2 separate regions of the Homo sapiens genome follow, and region 1 is linked to region 2. The links are contacts of gene promoters, found by promoter capture Hi-C in blood cells and fetal thymus (Javierre and others, 2016). All regions are on one chromosome and are shown on one strand. Each heading gives the region's core, a stretch centred on a gene start or on the middle of the fragment in contact. The rest is flanking DNA. Distances are from core to core; before and after follow the strand shown.

What was found. Contacts are between HindIII fragments. The CHiCAGO score rates a contact against its expected background, and 5 or more counts as called.
Region 1: a contact is called between a fragment that was not itself captured here and the fragment with the promoter of ZNF583 in region 2, in 1 of 17 cell types (total CD4 T cells). The highest score is 6.6, in total CD4 T cells.

What each region holds. Positions count from the first base shown.
Region 1 is chr19:44,012,165-44,015,199 of GRCh38, reverse strand. It overlaps ZNF230 (zinc finger protein 230), which reads right to left. Exons shown (of 5, transcript NM_006300.4): 5 at 1,276-3,035. Among named protein-coding and RNA genes, the nearest start is that of ZNF230, 11 kb to the right of the region's middle. The HindIII fragment of the contact is 5,903 bases long and covers 1-3,035 here.
Region 2 is chr19:56,402,578-56,405,711 of GRCh38, reverse strand. ZNF583 (zinc finger protein 583) reads right to left here and starts at 1,380. Exons shown (of 5, transcript NM_152478.3): 1 at 1,260-1,380. RefSeq lists a silencer at 1,147-1,356 and an enhancer at 1,817-1,956. The HindIII fragment of the contact is 8,045 bases long and covers 1-3,134 here.

The DNA.
Region 1 (3,035 bases), core at 435-2,934, about 12 Mb after region 2:
CCTCAGGTGAAGATCTGTTGCTTTAAAAGACAAAAAACAAACAACCTTCACACATATGTATATCTATTTCAATCTCTGAAATCACCTTTGTAAAAATTATAACAGTGAGAACATTATGACAGTGCAAGAGATCTCATCTAACCAACTCCATCTTGCTTTTAACCACCAAACTGCCCTTGGTAGTAATTCCTGGGCGTGGGCCCAGCTAACTTGGGGAGGAATTTAGTTTATAATTTAAATGGTAATAGCCCTTCCCCCAAACTAAACTGCCTTTGTAATACTATTGAAAGGCCCCACTAGTTTACGAGGATGAGAGGGGCCTGAATTCTAAGATATATGTGTAAAGGATTACCAGTCATTATTCTGATTTCCAGCTGTTATTCCAGAGGTCTTAAAATTTGCAAATTCCCCAGTTACTCCAGTAAATAACACCACTATTGTAGAACCTAAGACTGGCCTTTTGAGATGTCTTTTCAGGCTTCTGCATTTCTGACAACCAGATGGCCCCACCTAAACCCATGACTCTTGACTCAACTGGTCCTGTGGCCCCCACCCAGAAGTGGACTTAATGCACAAGGACCATTTTTCACATCCCCAGCCAACCAGCAGCACCCATTCCCTAGCCCCCTGCCTGTCAAACTATCTATGAAAAACCCTAGCCTCCAAATTTTCAAGGAGGCTGATTTGAGTAATAATAAAACCCTTGTCTCCCATTTAGCCAGTTCTATGTGTATTAAATTCTTTCGCTATTGTGAATTCTCTGTCTCGATAAATCAGCTGTGTCTGGGCACTGGGCAGGATCTCCAGTATTTGCACACTCCCTGACTTATCCCTAAAGAAGCATCACATGCTTTAATTACCAAGACAGTTAACCAGACTTCATCACTTTATCTGCATATTCTAAAAACCAGAGAATATATATATATTTTTGAGACAGAGTCTCACTCTGTTGCTCAGGCTGGAGTGCAGTGGCATGATCTCAGCTCACTGCAAGCTCTGCCTCCTGGGTTCACACCATTCTCCTGCCTCAGCCTCCCGAGTAGCTGGGACTACAGGCGCCCGCCACCACCTGGATAATTTTTTGTGTTTTTAGTAGAGATGGGGTTTCACCGTGTTAGCCAGGTTGGTCTCGATCTCCTGACCTCATGATCCACCACCCTCAGCCTCCCAAAGTGCTGGGATTACAGGCGTGAGCCACTGCGCCTGGCCCAACCAGAGAGTATTTCACTTTGAAATGACTTCAAAATGCCCTAGTCATTGTGAACTTACATCATATGACAATATAGAGCAATTTTATTCTGAGATTCTGAGTCCTGGTAGGTAAGTGATTAACGTTAATAAGTTTGCAAATTTATTGCACTAAATTTACTGCTTTGATAAAACTGATGTTCACTGAGAAAAAATGCATAAAATTATAAAATGGAAAAATACCAGCAAATATTCATTGCCAGAGGAAAGAATAGTTGTTCACAAATTACGTATATACACATTAAAAAGTCCCAGAAACACACAAAGATATTTGATTATGTTATGAAGGTTACAGTCAGATTTCACAAAGCTCACATTATGTTTTTCTCCTTTTACTGTATGTCTGGTTCCCTCATTTTATTGGTCTTATGTTATAGGAATAAATGCATTTCACACAAATTCTTGTTGAATACTTATTCCATTTTAAAATGGGGTGATATCATCCATGTGGTTTTCTACTTTTCACAGTTTTAACATCATAATCATAATTTCCTATCCCATCATTTCCAGGTAAAACACTTGTACCTTATACATTCTGATATACACTGCTTACAAAAGACTTATTTTTACTGCCAACAATAAAGAAGAGCATGTAAATGTCACTCCTACCCCAATCATGGATACATTTCATGAAATTACCAAACTCCGATAGGTTTCTCTTGGTATTTCATAGAGATAGGAAGAGAATATTAGGTTAGGTTTCCAAAAATTGTCAAATTGGCATAGCTTCTACCTGAGTTGTTTGATAAAATAAATGCTACCACAATTAGAAGGCCATTATATCAAGGCCTGCATGGAAATACAGAAGCAATCATGAGAATTCAGAACTAAGGAAGTTTTTTCCAACGTAACTACATCTGCCACGTAAAAAGTATTACTATAAATTTTGCCTTAACACTGTTGAAAAAAATGTAATTGTGATATATGCAGTGGACTGTTATTGACAAGTTAACAAACCATTTTCAGCCTGTAGTGTGAGAAGAGTTACAAATGATTGTTGAATTTATATTGTATGCAACCAATGGAGCATTAGACAAAGCCACTAGTAGTAAACTTCAGAACAGAGGATGAGGGGAAGCCAGCAGCCAAGTGCAACAGGGTAAGATTACCCAAAATAATGCTTTGGATTGCAGAACTGAGTGTATTCTGCATTTTAACTCGTGTCCCTGAATTATTTTTTGTAGATTTTCTCTCCTAGATGCAATTTTAAAATATCATATTTTCTCCTTTTGAGTCATTTAACACATACTAAACATGTAAGTGCTAATCAGTGTTAAGGTCCTGAGGATGCAGAAAACAAGGTACCTGTAGTTGACATTCTAGTGGTCACCACTTTTGACATGTTCATCATTAGGGTTTTGTAAATGTGTGAACAAACTCTTATTCTAAGGCCTGTCTCCTGAATGACAAGCGTAAGTTCTGTTTGCAACCCTACTGCACAATTTACAAGAGTTCTCTACTACGATGGTCCTAGGATGATGGGAGAATGCTGAGCTATGGTGAAACACTGAATTTAACTTAAACAAATGTTTTCTGTCCTACAAGCCTGGATGAAATATATTATCAGTATGGACTGTGATAAATTATGATATAAACACACACTGAAGTGCTTACCATATGCCTCTTTTTAATGTTTTGCCCCTTTGTGAACTCTCAAATGAGATTATAGACAACTGAGCAGAGACTTTATCACACACCTCATTACTAAGGATTCTGTCCAACGTGGACACTCTGGTGCAGTTGAGGACTTGAGGCCTGAGGTGGTATGAAGCCATATCACCCTAGCC
Region 2 (3,134 bases), core at 131-2,630:
CCCATTCCTTTTTCCTTTTAAATTCCTCACGTGCCCCCAGAGACTGAGAGGGATGGAAAAACTACTGTGCCAGAGGACAAGCAGCCAGCGTGGTCAGCTTTTCAGGCTTAAGGCTGAGGCTCCTGTCTGTCTCTCCCTTTTCAGCTCTCGTCCCTCCCTTTCTCCATCTTTTCCCCTTTATCTCAATCTTTCTGTCTCTCCACCACAACAGCAGTCTCCCAAACCCCAGAGCACACCAGCATCTCCAAGCACCCACACAGCTTCCTGCCCACACAAATCACAGACAACAAACCACATAGTTTCTCATTCTGGCACCTCCCCTGGCAACCTATGGACATGCCCCCACATTGTAGCCCGCCCTGCTCTCACAATGGGTCATATAAGGCCATTCTCAGTCACACTGTCACACTCACTGTCGGGATGACATACAGTGCTAAGTCACACCATCTCCCTCAGTCTCACATAATCACACACACTGTCATGCACAATCTCAAACACTGTCACATACAATCTTAGTCCAACAACAAAAACTCTGTTCACATACAGTTTCACATACAGTGACACAGTCTCACACACTGTCACACAAATTCTGTCGCAGTTTCATGTGGTCCCATATCAACAGCCACACACCGTACACAACCACACATAGCCTCACACACGGTGACATGGTCTCACATACTGTCACAGTCTCATCTAATCCTACACACACGGTCAAGCTCTGTTCACAAAGTCACACACACTGTCACACAGTCTTACATTATCCCACACACACAGGTCACACACACAGTGACATGGTCTTACACACTGTTCACACGTGGTCTACACATAATGACAGTTTAACACTGTCACACATTCCCAGTCTCACACATGGTGACGTGGTCTTAAGCACATACAGTGTCACACAGTCCCACACGGTCCCATATACTGTCAAAGGCTCCCGCATACACCGGGGCAACGGTCTCATACTGTCGCACACATTCTCACACCCAGTCTCATACTGTCACACATAGTCCCACATTTGTCCCACATGGTCTCACACTGACACACATATTCACACACGGCCTCACATTCTCACACTGTCACACACGGTCTCAAATTCTCACACAGTCACACATGGTCTCACACACGATTCCACACTGTCAAACACATTGTCACACACGGTTCCTTAATGTCTCACACATTCTCACACACTGTCACACACGGTCCCACACATGGTGGCATGGCCGCTCCCGGCGTCAGCTCCATCCCGCGCTCCTCACCGCCTCCTCCCTCCAGTGGGCACCTCCTTCGGCGCGGTCCTTGGAGGCCGGGGCTGGGCCAGGGCCCGGGCCAGGGCTCGATCCTGGCCGGCGGCCGCGCTCACAAAGGCGCCGCAGCCCTAGGGCAGGCCGCAGGGGCCGCTGGGAAATGGAGTCCGGGGCCGGCGCGGCGCAGAGGATGCTGGGATGTTGGCCGAGGGCCCCGGGCGGCCGCAGATCCCGCCGCTCAGTTGCGGGTAGTTACTGCTGCGCCCCTTTCCCTAGTAAGCCCACCTCCGCTGGCCTTCAGAATCCCACCCGGACCAGCTGAGCCCTCTCAGGCCGTTCGACTGTCCGCTCCCCCACCCGTTCCACCCGTTCCACCTGCGCAGGCGCAGCTGGTTCAGGTCCCCAAAGGCTGCCAGGCCGGGGTGCCAGCGCGGTGAGGCGCACGCGCAGTGACCGCGTCCGCGCTCCAGCGCTCCGGGTGGGGCTGTGAGTCCATCGCTGAGAAAAGGGAGCTGGAGGACCAGTGTGGAGCCTGAGCCAGCTGGAGAGGGGCCCGGTAGGATGTACGTGTGATTAAGCGCTCTGGCGGCCCGGGCTTTCTCTTTCCCTTTCTGTTTCTTCTCTCTCCGCCTTGCCCTGTCTTTCATTCGCCACTTATTGAGCGCCTGCTGTATCGGGCACTGTCGTGGGCCCTGGGCACACAGCAGTGAACAAGCAGACAAAATCCCCACCTCATGGAGCAGCATTCTAATGCGGGAGGAATTCAATAGGAAAAAATTAATAATAAAGGACACTGATGCATATTGGGAAGTAATGCGTATTATCAAGAAAAGCGAAGCAGAGTATTAAGATCATTCTTTCAGTTCTTCATTCTTTCAGTTATGCCCTCTGAATCAGTGGAAAAAACGCAAGGTGCATTTTTTTCTATTATCTCAACGACAACTAATCATAACAGAAGACTTTTCTGACCAAATATAGGGGAGTTTCCCACACATCTCAAGCAAGCAATGAGTTCAGTGAGTTCTGCAGCGGGCACCAGCTGGGTGTCCTCCAGTTTAATTCCGACGCCGTCTACTTGGAGATGGGTCAGACACCATTCGCTGAGGGCTCAGTCCCCAAGCCTGCCTCCCCCTTCCCACTTCCCACTAAAGTCTAGCCTCTGGAACATCTGACTCCACCACCTTCAAATTGGGATTTTCACCACCCCCTCTTTGCGGTTCGATATTTTGCTAGAGTGGCTCACGGAACTCAGGAAACACTTATGTTTACTAGTTTATTATAAAGGATATTACAAATGATATAGATGAAGAGATGCGTAGGGCAAAGTACAGAAAAAAGGGTGTTGCACCTTCCAGTAACCTCCACATGTTCAGCTGGGTGGAAGCTCTCTAAACCCTGTCTTTTGGGAGTTTTACAGAGGCTTCATTACATAGGCATGGTTGATTAAAATCCCGTCCCCTCCTTAGGGTTGGGGGTGGGGTTGAATGTCCCAACCTTCTAGTCATGTCTTGGTCTTTCCATAACCAGTCCCCATCCTGAAACTCTATAGGGGTTGCCAGCTGTCAACTCATTAGCATACAAAATGAGTTTTTACTGTTACTTTGTAGTTTCTAAGGATTTTAGAAGTTCTATGCTAGGAAGATCAAATATATATTTCACAATATCATACTCTTATTCCTATTCTTCAATCTGTCTTTGAAAATATTTTATAAACTCCTATCTCTAGTTTATCTCCCAATCCTGTACCATCCCTTCCAAAATCCTGTTGTGCCCTTCAATTGCTTCATTTAATTGTCTGACCAAAGTTGCCAGTGACAAAGAGCATCATATAAGCTGGGAATTTTATTTGAGGAAATTAAACAAACGCAACTATGATATCAGCAAAAA